Regions from separate parts of the Homo sapiens genome. Here regions 1 and 3 are each linked to region 2. The links are contacts of gene promoters, found by promoter capture Hi-C in blood cells and fetal thymus (Javierre and others, 2016). All regions are on one chromosome and are shown on one strand. The core of a region is centred on a gene start or on the middle of the fragment in contact, and the rest is flanking DNA. Distances in the headings are between cores, read along the strand shown. Region 1 holds the start of LINC02384 (long intergenic non-protein coding RNA 2384). Region 2 holds the start of MDM1 (Mdm1 nuclear protein). Region 3 overlaps IL26 (interleukin 26).

What was found. Contacts are between HindIII fragments. The CHiCAGO score rates a contact against its expected background, and 5 or more counts as called.
Region 1: a contact is called between a fragment that was not itself captured here and the fragment with the promoter of MDM1 in region 2, in 1 of 17 cell types (megakaryocytes). The highest score is 5.5, in megakaryocytes.
Region 3: a contact is called between a fragment that was not itself captured here and the fragment with the promoter of MDM1 in region 2, in 1 of 17 cell types (activated CD4 T cells). The highest score is 5.7, in activated CD4 T cells.

What each region holds. Positions count from the first base shown.
Region 1 is chr12:68,451,449-68,456,163 of GRCh38, reverse strand. LINC02384 (long intergenic non-protein coding RNA 2384) reads left to right here and starts at 4,680. Exons shown (of 4, transcript NR_120458.1): 1 at 4,680-4,715. RefSeq lists enhancers at 4,292-4,431, 4,492-4,715. The HindIII fragment of the contact is 315 bases long and covers 1,348-1,662 here.
Region 2 is chr12:68,329,191-68,333,903 of GRCh38, reverse strand. MDM1 (Mdm1 nuclear protein) reads left to right here and starts at 1,542. Exons shown (of 15, transcript NM_001354969.2): 1 at 1,542-1,676; 2 at 2,683-2,797. The coding sequence starts at 1,659. LOC105369819 (a long non-coding RNA gene) reads right to left here and starts at 1,273. Exons shown (of 3, transcript XR_945057.3): 1 at 1-1,273. RefSeq lists a silencer at 1,342-1,601 and an enhancer at 1,902-1,991. The HindIII fragment of the contact is 10,890 bases long and covers 1-3,923 here.
Region 3 is chr12:68,216,172-68,220,802 of GRCh38, reverse strand. The region is part of intron 3 of IL26 (interleukin 26); the gene reads left to right. Among named protein-coding and RNA genes, the nearest start is that of IL26, 7.3 kb to the left of the region's middle. The HindIII fragment of the contact is 700 bases long and covers 2,759-3,458 here.

The DNA.
Region 1 (4,715 bases), core at 256-2,755, 120 kb before region 2:
GTGGCCCTCCGGTACAGGAACCTGACCTGGACAGGAAGTGAAGGGTATCATCTGAGGAGCAGGAAGGGGAGATGTGAGGGAAATAAGTGTCCATTGCATAAACCTTGCTAGAGCTTTTATCCTGTTACAGGGTTGTAGGCAGCTTGGAGCTTCTCTAACAAAATAATCTGGCCTGCTGGGAGGTATTTGTGAGGGACAAGAAGGGAGACAAGAAAGGTTAGAGTGTGGGCAATTACCATGGGGCTCTGTCTTGTCTTGGCTCCCTTTTGGATGACATAAGATCTTTGTCTTGGATCCAAACAGGATGAAAATAAGTCTCATTTCCTCCCCTCTCCCAACCCCCTTCCTCCCATGATGAAATGAACTATATGGGACTCTTGGTTGACATAAATCTTTGTGCTTTAATAAAAACTAAAGGTTCAGGAGTGGGAAGTGGTTAAGAAGTTGTTTGCTGGGGATTATATCAATAATTCATCCTGTTTAGACTGAAGAATGACAATGATAAAGAAGTTAAAACAAAAAACCAACAAACAAACCCACTAGGGTAAATGGGGCAGGGGAAACTGAGAAGTGAAAATGAAGACAGAATTGAACATATGTGAATATAAACTTTTTTTTTTAACCAGCTGTAAACAAAGTGGTATGAGGAAAGATGGGAAGAGATATAAAAATAAACAGCATTAAGTTAAAGGGGGTAATTATAGGAGCCAAAATGAGAGGTGAGTGTCGCAAAGGATCCAGCTAACTTTAGAGACTTGAGAAGTTTCTTCAAACATTTCCTTTCAGGACACTGTGGGGCTTTCAATCTTTCAGGATTTAACAAGACCCTAAATGTATATGCCTTAAATTCACACAAACACACACTTTTTTTGTTTGTTTGTTTTTTCCTGTTGGGGGAGAAGAGAGAGTAGGAGATGTATTCTTTGTTGTCATTTGGAAAACAGTTTCCGGTACATTTTATTTGCTTTTAAAAGCCCTGGAGAATAGTCAGCAAATAGAAATTGGTTTGCAGAAATAACATGGCTTCCTGGAACTTAGGGGGAAGGAAATGGGTGGTTTCTTTAATTACTATAGTATTTGTTTAGTATAGTGTGTCTTACAACTAAAGATAGAATTCCGGCTAATGTCCAGGAGGGAAGGTGAATTTGGATATTAATGAATTCGGAAGCTTCATACAGTTGTGTTGAATTTACCAGGTTAAGTAAGACAATAATGCTCTTTGTTTTCCCTATCCTGGCCAGATTAGAGTGGACTGAAGTTTGTTTTCAGATATCTAATCAGTTTAAATTCAAGTGCATTATTATTTACATATGAAGAGCTAATGACTTTAATGTAAGCAAGTAAGCTTATTTACAACAAAGAAGTGACTGGGTGACAAGAGGAGTGTCGATATTGCCTTAATTAGTTGATTTGCCAATTATTCTTTTCTGCTGGGTGTGATAGTACTTTTCCTAATGAGCAGCAGAAACAAGAATGCTCCAGCAAAAGCGATTGTAACACAGTAGTAGCAATAGCTTCTTGGCCATTTTAGGTCCATTAGTGCTGAAGTTGTCGACTTTATACAATTTTTCAGACTTCATAAGATTGAAGAACCAAGTATATTCCTGTAGGTTTATCCTATTTATTTATCAGCTATGTGACTTAGCTCAAGTCTGAGAAGCTTAAAAGGCATTTACTGAAAGTGAAAATAAATTAGATGGCAGGTTTGAACTTAAAGAAGAATTAAAAATATGTCCCACAGCAGTGCCATGCATTTATTTCTTCAGGCTTCTTAAAGACATTGATTGGTAATAGATGCATCCGCGCTCATTGGTGTGGGAAGCCCTGGGGGAATGGCTAGAAGACTCCTTCATTTTCTTTTGTGTAGGTTTGCATTTCTTCTGTATTTGAAAGTCGTGATACTGAAGAAATTCAAAAATCCCCAGGAGATTCCATGTCCACATAACAAATGTAAACTTATCTTTACTTTAATGTGTTCACTTCTCATAACTCCTTGACTGGAACCCTTCACTTCATCCAGTCTGAGAGTCTGTAAGTTTCTGCCGCAGGCATGCACATTCCTGACACCACGCTTTTGCTTGGCTGTGCCTCCTGCCCAGAATGCTGTCTATTCTCTTACGCACATCCTCTCTGTATCCCATTTTTGTCCTATTTCTTCCTGATTCAGAGAGGGTGGTGATTGGTGGATATGGCTAACATTTATTAAGTATATCTCATGCTTTACATACTGTGGTGGCAATTTATGTGCATTGTTTAATGATACCCCCGTTTTACAGGTAGGGAAAGAGAGGCTTACAGAATGTCACTGGGCTCACACTAGTAAGTGGCACAAAGCCAGAATATAAATCTAGGTCTTTCTGGTCATTTCTGGACTTAATCTTATAGTGTCTTGAATTGTTTCTTAGCTATTGCATCTACTAAGGCCTTATTTCTCTAACCAGATTGTCAGTGGCTAGAGGCAAGGAGCTTACTTATCTTTTAGTCTGCATAGAGCAGGCCCTCAATAGTGATAGCCTTCTATTGAAGTGAAAAATAACATGTAAAACGTTAAAGGATTTTTATTATTTGGTTAAACACTGGAAGAAAGAAACAAATCACAGGAAACTAATTTCTCAAAATTACTGCATGAACACAAGACACTGTGGTTCTTAGTGTGATCAGCACCACTCACATGGGTGTCTGGAAATGTGGGGGCAGTCCTTAGGTTGTCAGGATTCTGAAGGTATCATGCAGTTATAGTGTGTGGTAGACAGGGACGTCAAACACCTTGCAGAAAGTAGGACCGTTCTGCACCCTGCAGGGGCCCAATAAGGGAAGCAGCACCTGGAAAACATGGACCCAGATGCCAGATTGAGTTCCAACTTGCCTCCACCTTTTACTAACTGAGTAAATCTTTCTCATGTTAACTATGTGCCCTCTCCACTCCTGGCACATGGTTAGTGCCCAAAAGCATCAGCTCATAATTACTATCCTCTAGAAAAGTGTCCCCCATGGCAAGACATGATCTTTGCGGAGTGAGAGAACTTACTAGACTAACAGTAACAGTGTAAAAATCAAGGTGTAATGAACATACAGAGTGGAATAATAGATATTGGAAACTCCAAAAGATAAGAGGGTGGGGTGGGAGTGGGGATGAGGGATGAGAAATTACCTGTTGGGTGCAATGTACAGTATTTGGGTGATGGGTACACAAAGAGCCCAGACTTCACCACTACACAATATATCCATGTAACAAAACTGTACTTGTATTCCCTAAGTCTAAAAAAAGAAACCAAAACTAAAAAAAAAAAAAAAAAAAAGAGAATCAAGGTGTGTCCCAAAACAGTGCTTCTCAAACCTTAATGTGCTTACACATCTCCTAGAAATCTTGTTAAAATGCAGATTCTGATTCGAGGGGGGGCTAGGATGGGACCAGAGTGTCTGCATTTCTGATAAGCTCATGATCCCAGAGCTGCTGTTGGGTACCAAAGTTCTAAAGTACCTTGAGGGAGAAGCCAACTTAATAAGTGAAATAATGAAGCATTTATTACATATCTACTATATAACTTAAATGACAAAAATAGAGTAATGGAGGTTGGATATAAGGAGTATAGAATTTGATTTCTTCACAGAAGGAGCTTCCATCTGCTTTGCCACTTTTATCTGAGAGACAAAGAGAGAGAGCACACAGATTTTCCATAGATAACTATATTTTTCAAGGGAAAAAGGCAGAGAGGTATTTCTTATGTGTGTTTCCTCACACAAAAAGGCCATTTTGGGTCCCCAAATAATTTTAGAGGAGGTATTATAACTAAATAAAGGAAAAACTTGGCAGCCATTCTTGGATGCAGGGTGTAAGCCTTGCATATCTCAGAACTAGTACGAATGGTGTGCATTTGGGTGTTTCTCTGTGTGTGCAGTTTTACATGTCTGTGTATGAGCTGGAAAGTGTATTGGGCCATTGCCAGGGAATTGATTTCTTAAACATCACTAGAGAAGAGGGATATTTTCCCTGATAAAGATTAAAGCGTTAAGTTAAGGGGCAGGAATTCCTAAGGCAGCCTTGACTAGGAACTTTGCATATTACAGGCAGTCGATGTTATTTGAACGTATTCATTGAGAGAAGAGACTACTCATTATCCACTTAAAATACTTCCTGGCTGCAGCATGGTGTTGTACGGAAGCCAAAGCAATTGGCTTTGCATTTGGCCAGCTGATTTAGCAAGAAATTTCGCAAATGATGCAGTCCTTACAGATGGTGCTGTTGGGTTTTTTAGAATGTTTTAAAACACTGATGGATTTGACCATGAACTGAATTTCCAGTCTCTTAGATTCACCTCCAGCCACCCCTTGACGATCTCCAAGGCAACTGGAGACAAGGAGCAGACCTTTTCTGCAAACTTATGATGAATGATTTCCTTTAAAAACTACTCGCATAATAAAAATGTTTTGGTGTAAACTTGGCCAAGGGGAACTCTTGAAACTTTCAGTTTCTTTGCCTAACTCTGAGTTGCTTGAGTCACATTTTTGCATGGTTCTTGATTGACTTTCTGGTGCTCTGCCTGGAGGTCTTTGCTTATCTGTGAGTTGCCTGAGTCACATTTTTACATGGTTCTGGTGCTCTGCCTGCAGGTCAAGAAGGAGCCAGTATCTCCAGGAGGAGTGAGAGAGTGCTCTGCCAGTGTGAAGTGTGAATCCTTGAGAGGCTGTGGCAAGGGTCCATGCCTGAATGTGTA
Region 2 (4,713 bases), core at 293-2,792:
GATCTCACCTTAGCATTTTGTGGTAACAAAGCTGTGTGCACAACCAAAGTTGTGCCTTTCTTACTCTGTAAGATGGGCTGCCTTCCTGCAGATGACTTTTGTTCTATGTTCCACTGTGTCTTGTTTGTGCCATTCTTAATTTACACGACAGAGATGCTGTCATCACCAATTAACATTAATCAAGGGCCCCCTGGATGCATGGCTGCATTGGGACTAATTTAATATGCTCTTTGTTCCAGATATCAGGTGGCTTCTTCAAATGATTTTTAAGTATCTCGATGATGATGAAGAACAAAGACATCAATCAGGATTCAGGAAGACAGCTTTTGCGGAAAATGCTTAAAGGGAAGCATCAAGGATTGGTGTTGATATTTGAAAGTTTAAGAGTGGTATACTTTTATTCAGTCAACACATGACAAATGTAAAAGGCACTCATTTGTTGTTCCTGGAAGAAGCCTGGCAGCATTCCATTCAGACATCTGCCCTTTCATCGTCCCACTTTTTACTTATTGCAGTCCTTTCAGTCTGAATATTTCCTCCTGACGCATCTTCTGCCGTCCGAAATGACTCCCTGCTCCCAGATCCTGTAGCCCTTATTATTGACACCTTTCATTTAGAAATTTAGCACATGTCACATTACACCATTATTGAATAAATAATGAATAAATAAATAAATAAAGATGTATGTCCTTCCCAAGTATATCAGAGAACTATCTGGACAATTTCTTTCTTTCCCAATTCTCAGAATCAGCAGTATTCTGTCAAGAAACATTTATCGACGATGATGGCAATAGTCGATTAAAATCAGATGAAGTTTTATTTTTAAAAAAAGGTTGAGCGGAGAGACAAGGCTGAAGGTTTGGAAGTTGAGACAACCATCTTCAATAAACGTTTTCTCATCTAAGGGCTGTATGTACATCATTTTGGGGAAGGTAGAGATTGAAGGAGGAAGAACATCACTGGAGGAAGAGACAGCAGTTTGTCTTTCGAGTTTCAATAAAGTTTCAAAAATCTTGCCTAAGTTATATATTTTTTTGGCCTTTCCCTTTTGATGTGACAATAAACTGTAATGCGGCTGTCGTTTGTACGAACCGATATTCAGCAGAATAAATCTGAGCACTTTCAGAAAAAGAAGCGTTCGGTTTTCTCATAGATGTTAGCATGAAGAACACACTTTGACCTTTGATGCTGTCAAGCACCTGGGCCAGCGAGGCTGGCGGCTGGCGAATTCCACCAGCAAGCAGACGCATTGCTGCGCAGGACCCGGCGAACCAGGGACCGGTCCACCCAACCCAGGAAGGCACCCCCGGGGTCCCGCCCAGCCCGGTTCCGGGAGCCTTATTGGCCGGCCTTCCGCCCGCCATCTCTATCAGCCCCAGGGATTTGGCAAGGGAGGTAGGCGGCTCCCTTTCGGCCACTCATTGGTCAAATCCTAATGGAGGTAAGGCACTCTGCGAGTCTCTATTGGTCCCTAGGCTCCAAAAAGGGCGGGGAAAAACAGACCGACAGGCCTCTAGGCGGGAAGCGCGGAGTGCGCCGGCGCGTAGTCGGGGACGCCGGGCCGAGGCTTTGCTAGGGAACACTGTTATCGCCCCGCCCCCTCGGAGCTTTTTCTCCAGTTAACTGTCGGAGTAGCGGGGGCTCCGGCGCCGGGCGACATGCCGGTGCGCTTCAAGGTGAGGCTGGGGTCCCCGGGCCGGAATGTGGCTGGGGGGAGCCATGGCCGGGGAGGTGTGGAGCGCCGAGGTCACGCTGCTTTTCTGCGCTGCAGCCCTCTGCCCGGCGGAAGCTGCCAGCCCCAGGGCCTGCTCGAGGGGCCCCAGAATCTGCCCGCCGCCTCTTAACCTAGTTCCCTCTCCGCTCACTCACATTTGCAAGCTGCAGTGTGTCGAAGAGTCAGATGGTGCGAGACACATTTACTTAGGGGGACTCAAGAGGAGTGGAGATGGGAGGAGGTCCCTTTGCGAAGAGAACTAAAGGCGACTTCAGATTGGGACACCTGTGGCCCATTTAGCTTAGCATTTAACCCCCATTACCTTTAAAACTTTAGTGTATGTGGCTTTTAAAGGCTTGAGAAATGGGTTCTTAGTAAAGACAGCGTATAAAGAAATACACGTTTTTCATCGTTGTGCATTCTTAGCGTATGTTAAAAGTTCCAGGTAGCTGGTAGCTGTCAGGGACTAGCACCCTGCAACTTCACAGGTGGCCACAGCGTCCCACATCTCCTGACTCATTTATCTTAAAGGCGTGTATTCAGAATGGAAGGGGAGTTTGCCTTTTGTTGACTTTATCAAATAGCAAAAGGTCCTAGGCATGGTACATAATATTGTGTACTCGGTGAAAACCTGCGATAAATCTAGAATGATGAGAATTTAGATTGTCATTAGTTATCCGACAAGAACTCATGCTTTGGAATCAGATAATCAGTGAAAGGGTAACCTCTGAGCCTGGAATTCCTGGTAGCATCTGCCTCAAGTGGTGTTGTGGATTAAAGGATATAACACGTGTGAACTGCTTAGCACAGGGCTGGGTGAATATTAGCTCTTATTAAGGAGCTCGTCTGTGTTTAATTTTCAGTCTTAAGTCTCTTTTGGGAGGTTCAGAAATTATTTTTCACCGATGTCTGCTTTAAAACATCATTCATTAATTGGACTGTACTCAAAAGTGTACTTTGCATTACAGGGGCTGAGTGAATACCAGAGGAACTTCCTGTGGAAAAAGTCTTATTTGTCCGAGTCTTGTAATTCCTCCGTGGGGCGAAAGTACCCATGGGCTGGACTTAGATCAGATCAATTAGGTAAGTTGAGCAGGCTAATAGCCATTCTAACCTGGGCTAAGTTTATAACTTGGGCCAAGCCGTTATAACTTGGGCTAAGTAAACCTTGGGCTAAGTTTACCAAATGATATATTAAAAGTTCAGTTGGCCTGGTTGATTTATTCATTTATTAATCAAGTATTTATTGAAGGTTTACTATGAGCCAGGACTATTCCCAGCAGCTAGTGTGGCAGGCCAGGTTTCACTAATGGAGGCCTCCATCACAACTGTTTCGGTACTGACTGAGCGGTTAAGTTAAATATTGAAAGCTAAAAAAAGCCAGTGCCCTTACACAAAGGCTGGGATGTCACAAAAGCCCATCAAGAGTATTGCCTAGGCCTTTCCTGGGCCATAAAGCATGACAAAATAAGGAATTCTTAACAGGATCCGTTTAGGATTAAACAAGTTTTACTGGGGGTCTGAAGAAACTCCCCAGGCCTCCACAAATTTATTGGCGGTCTGAAGGAACTCCTCAAACCTCCATGATTCAGCAGGAGACAAGATAAGGGTAATCAGCCCAGCACCTAGACCCATTTAGATTAAGTAAATTTACTGATGCTCCAGAAGAAGGTCTTCAGGACTCAGACCTTAGTTATAGATTAAAAGAAGTTAATCACTTATATCCTTAGATGAATGCACACTTACACGTAGACATATAGCTTAGAAGGTATATAAGCTCTGAAAAACTTTGTAATTTGGGGTTCGTCTGGTGATAATTTGCAGGCCTTCTTCCCGTAACTGGTTATAGAAATAAAAACTCTCTTTCTCCCTAGTTTATCTGCATCTCGTTATTGGCCGAGAGAAATAGCAGCCTGACCCTCAGTTTGGTCTGGGAACACTAGGGATATAGCCCTGAACCAAAGTCCCTTAACTGTGGAGAGAAACAGTAAGCAAGTCACTCAATAATTAAGGGAATTTCAGGTTTTTATATAAAATTGTAGGGAAGTGTGATACATAACATGCGGGAGGAGTGGATTGGAGGGAAAATGCTTTAGATTAGATGGTTGGGAAAGGCTCTTTTTGAGGAGGTGATATTTGAGCTGAGACCTGAAAGCTGAGGGGACAATGCTGGGGAAGAGTGCTCCCAAGGTCTTGAGAAATGGAAGCTTAGGGAGATGAGGTCGCTGCCCCAGCTTTACAGCTAGTAAGTGGCAGAACCATGATTTGAAATCAAGTCTGTTTTGTGCAAAGCATGTAATTTCAGAGGTCATGTTCTTGTTATCACACATGCCTCCTCCCTGTGTCCCAGGGAAGGCAGAGTCCTGGGCCAGAGTTTCCCGGAGGGTGATAGAACAGAAGGGAGACAGACTGACCTCATTATACCTGCTTATTTAATTCTTCCTTACTAGTATATTAGATCTCTGAGAGTAGGGCTCTGTCTTATTCACCACCCAGTACCTAACACAGGCCTTGGAACATTCTATTGCTTCTTGAAACTATTTTTTGAATGAATGAATTAGCCTAAATTTGAATTATAATAGCTGTGTGATGTTGGGCAAATTGAGCTAGTTTCACCAAGTGAGATTTTAGGAAGTCTGTTGCATAGGATTACTGGGAGGGTTTAAATGAGATGTTGCCTATTAAGGGCCTGGTTTGAGTACACAGATCAGTGCTTAGTGTCCCACATGTGATGTGTGCGAGCATGGCATGTAAGTCACATAAATGTTAGATGTTTGAAGCCAGGAAAAGACTTATGGGTAGGGTACCAAGCCTGGAAAGTTAGTAAGACGACGAGGTATTTTCAGAATTTGGTCTAGAGAACAAAGGGAAGAGTGGGCAAGAGTGAGTGTCTCTTTTAGAGTTCCTCTGAAGCATCATGATCTGACCCAGCGGCAAACTTCAGAGACTGGGTGTCCCTGCTTCTCCGGCAGGGTGCTAGGAAAATCCCTCTGCTCATA
Region 3 (4,631 bases), core at 1,859-4,358, 110 kb after region 2:
TAGCCAGGCGCGGTGGCGCATGCCTGTAGTCCCAGCTACTCGGGAGACTGAGACAGGAGAATCTCTTGAACCCAGGAGGTGGAGGTTGCAGTGAGCCAAGACCGCACCACTGCACTCCAACCTGGATGACAGATATCTATGACACCTTCTTATTATCTTAGTGTCTTTTGAAGAGATTTTACATTTTATGAAGTACAATATAATAGTTTTTTCTTTAATGGACCATGTTTTGGTGTCATATTGAAGAAATCTTTATTTAACACAAAGGTCATGAAAAAATTTTACATTTAGAAGTTTCCTCATTTTAAATATCACATTTAGATCAATGCCTTTTTAACACATCTATTGACAGGATTGTATGATTTTTAATTTTTGGACAATTGAAACAATGAATTACATTGATTTTCAAAGTTAAACCAATCTTGCATTTCTGGGATGCACTCTACTTGGCAATAATATATTATTTCTTTCATACATCACTAGATTTAATTTGCTAAAATTTTGCCTAAAAATTTTGCATCTACATATGTTAGATGTTAGTCTACGGTTTTCTTGTAATATCTGTGTCACTTTGATACTAGCATAATCCTGGCCTCATAAAGTTGAAAAGGGTTTACCTTTTCAATTTTCAGAAAGTGTTAGTATAGACTTATTTTTTCTTAAATGTTTGGCAAGATTTACCAGTGAAGCCATTTTTGCTTAGAGTTTTCTTTGTGGGAAGATTTTAAACTATGTATTCTATTTTTTAGTAGATGCAAGGTTATTTTTTCAGATTATCTATTTCTTTTTGAAGGAACCTTGGTAGTTTGTGTCTTTCAGTGATTTTATTCATCTCATCAAATTCACCAAATTTATAGCCAGATAATTTTTCATGATATTTCCTTAATATGCTTTTAATATCTGCATAGTACAGGATGATGTCACTTCTCTTATTTCTGATATTGGTAATTTTTGTCTTTATTTTTTCTTTCTCATGGGTCTGGCTAAAAATTCATCAATTTTATTGATTTCTCAAAGAACCAGTTTTTAGTTTCATTGATTTTTCTTTATTACTTTTCTGTTTTTATTTCAGTGATTTTTATTCTGAACATTATTATTCATTTTCTTCTATTAAATTTATATTTAGTCTGCTCCTTCTAGTTTCTTAAGCTAGAAACTTGGGTCATTAACTTGAAATTTTTTTTTCTTTATTTGGAAGCTGAGATTATTAATTTGTGATTTTCTAACTTTTTATTATAGGAGTTTAGAACTATAAATTTCCCTCTAAGTACTTCTTTAGTTACATTTCACAATCTTTGCTATGTTGTGCTTTCATGTTTATTTGCTTTAAATTACTTGCTAATTTCCCTTTTTATTTTTTCTTTTATATATGGGTTATTAGAAGAGTGTTATTTAGTTTTTATATGTGGGAATTTTTCTAGATACTTTTCTAATTTTGATTTCTAATTTGATATCATTTTGGCCAGAGACCATACTTTGTATGACTTGAATCCCTTTATATTTGCTGATCCATGTTTCATAACCCAGAATTTGGTCTATTTTGGTAAATGTTCTATGTATATTTGAAAAGAATATGTATTCTGCCATTGTTGGGCTGAGTATTTTATACATTTCAATTAGATTTAGTTGTGACAGCTTTTTACTTTTTCTCTCTCTTTATTAACTTTTTTCTACTTGTTTTATCAATTATTGGTATCTCTGACATTAATTGTGAACTTCTGTTGCTTCTTGAAGTTCTATCAGATATTGCTTCATGTATTTTGAATTTCTGTTATTAGGTACAGAAATGTTTATGATTGTTATATTCTCTTGATGAATTGACACATTTATCATTATAAAATTACCCTTATTGTCCCTAATAATATTCTTTGTCCTGAAATCCACTTCTTTTTTGATGCTAATAGAATCACTCCAGCTTTCTTTTGATTGATGTTAGTGTGCTATGTCTTTTTCCATCCTTTTACTCATAACATATTCGTGCCTTTTATTTTTCTCATTATTACTTGTTTTAAGCAATTTGATTATGATGTGAATTGATGTAGTTTTCTTCAGGCTTCTTGTGCTTGGAGTTGATTGGGAATCTTGTATTTGTGAGTATATAGTTTTCATCAAATTTGAAATTGTTCAGCATTATTTATTCAAAAACTTTTTTCTGTATCTCCTTCTGTCTCTTCTCCTCTTGGAATGCTAATTACACATATATTAGCCCATTTGTAGTTGTCCCACAGCTCACTGATTCTGTGGGTTGTTTTTTCCCAGTCTTTTCTGTGTTTCATTGTGAATAGTTTCTATTGCTACATCTTCAAGATCACTAATCGTTTCTTTTGTAGTGCCTATCTGTTAGTCCCATTCAGAATATTTTTCACCTCATACATTGTAGTTTTTATCTCTAGAAGTTTGAATTGAGTCTTTTTAATATTTTCCATTGCTCTATTGAACATGATCAGTCTTTCTCTAACTTCTAGAACATATGGAATAGAGTTATAGCAACTTTTAAAATATCCTTATTGATTAATTGTAACATTTGTGTCCACTCTGGGTTGGTTTCAATTGATTGATTTTTTTCCCTCGTTATGGGTCATATTTTACAGCATCTTTGCACGGCTGGTAATTTTGATCAAATGTCAAATATTATGAATTTTACCTTGTTGGATCCTAGACATTTTTATATTTCTGTAAATATTCTTGAGTTTTCTTCTGGGACACAGTTAAATTAGTTGCAAACAGTTTGATCTTTTCAGATCTTGTTGTTTAAGCTTTGTTAGGCAGGACCAAAGTATTGTTTAGTCTAGTGCTGTTTTTGCCACTCATTGAAGCAACACATTTCTGTAAACTCTACCATATTTCCTATGATTTTGCTTTCCTTTCTTCTTTTCCTTCTCTTCCTCCTTTTTGAAATGTATTTGTTCAGGACATTCGGCCATTTGTCTCACAGAGTTTCTCATAGTCTGTATTTTCTGACTGCATTTTCATAGTGTCATTTAATATATTCTCCTCTTTATTTACCATACATTAACAATTATACAGAGAGACTTGATCAGATTTAGCTTGATGTTTTAGCTAGAACACTTTATAGGTAGCATTGTTTGCTTTCACTGGGTCACATGATGTATGATCTTTATTTTTACGATGATAACAACCCCTGACAATTATTGTCTAGATCCGTTAATTCATAAGGCACTACAAAATAATAATTTTTAAATTCTATTTTATCTTCTTTACTCATAAGCTGGGATAATTCAATAAATAGAATCTACTCCTATTTGGATGTTCTGAGGAACTTATCATATAAGAAAGCCAGGTTAAATACTTAATTATCTTCCTTTATTTGCTAGCTTTCAACATAAGTGGTTGGTTTTCTGATTTTCTCCCATAATGACCAATGAATTATTAATTTTGTTGTCATTTTCTCTGTTTCATTATTAACTCATGAAATTATTTCTTATTTTTGTGAAGCTTATCTGATTTCTCTAAGGTACCTGCCTTTTGGGCTTCCTTGCAAGTCCGTTTTCTTGAGCCACTCTTAAGATAAAACAGCATGACAAATTATCATGATAGACTCCAAGGACTGGAATTCCCAGTACCACTGTATTTGGACATCCTCTCATTGCTTCTGGTGACATTCTAAGCATTTTGCAGCACCTAATAAAATATATTTTCCAATTAGTTTGATTTGGGTAAGTCAGATAGTATAATTGTTCAAAAAATAAGTTATGTGTAATGTAAACTTCTTTATGTTTATACTCTTTCCTAGCCATAATATTTGGAAAATTGTTTATGTAAGAAGACATTTTAGAGATTCTTACAGAACTCAAATACTCTCAGACTTGAAAGAGAATTTAGCAGTCACCTTATTGGATTCATAAAATAATTTACCTAATTGCTAGTGATCAAAATAGAAATGAAAATAATTTCTGTTAGTTTTTAAGATTTCATCGTCTACTTTAATTAACATTTTGAGAGCCTGAACAGTAATTGGTATTTAGAGAGACACATTTCTTCATGTCGGTTGCATGTAATTAATTTTAAAGTCTGGCAAAAATTGGCAAACAGAATATTGTGTTTCCATTTTTTGTAGACTGTTTAATAAGTAACTTGTATCATCAATTGCAAATAGCTTATCAACTTGTAAAATAATACCATTCATTCATCCCTGTAATTTAAAATTGTAAAAATTGCAACTGGTTGAACTGATAAAGCAAGAGTGAGACCAATCCTGTCTTATTCTTTTATCAGCTGCAAAGTCTAAAACCTGTGTCTTCAATAACAGTAGCCTCATCTTAAGGTCGTTGGGAGAATTAAGTACCTAGCATGTAGTAGTTCTGCAGAATTGTTAGTGCTTCCTTTATTGCTTTTCATGCACAGAACATTAATTTTTATTCCAATTACATTTTCTCAACAATTTACGAAGGAGTGGTTCTCTTAAGTAATCAGATACTTTTTTAGTGCTTAAAATTAGTATTATATTGTATAATGTGTATAATTTATAGTAGTAGCTTATTTATTTTTTTATGAGACGGAGTCTTGCTGTGTTGTCAGGCTGGAGTGCAGTGGTGCAATCTTGGCTCACTGCAACCTCCACCTCCTGGGTTCAAGCGATTCCCCTGCCTCAGCCTCCTGTGTAGTTGGGA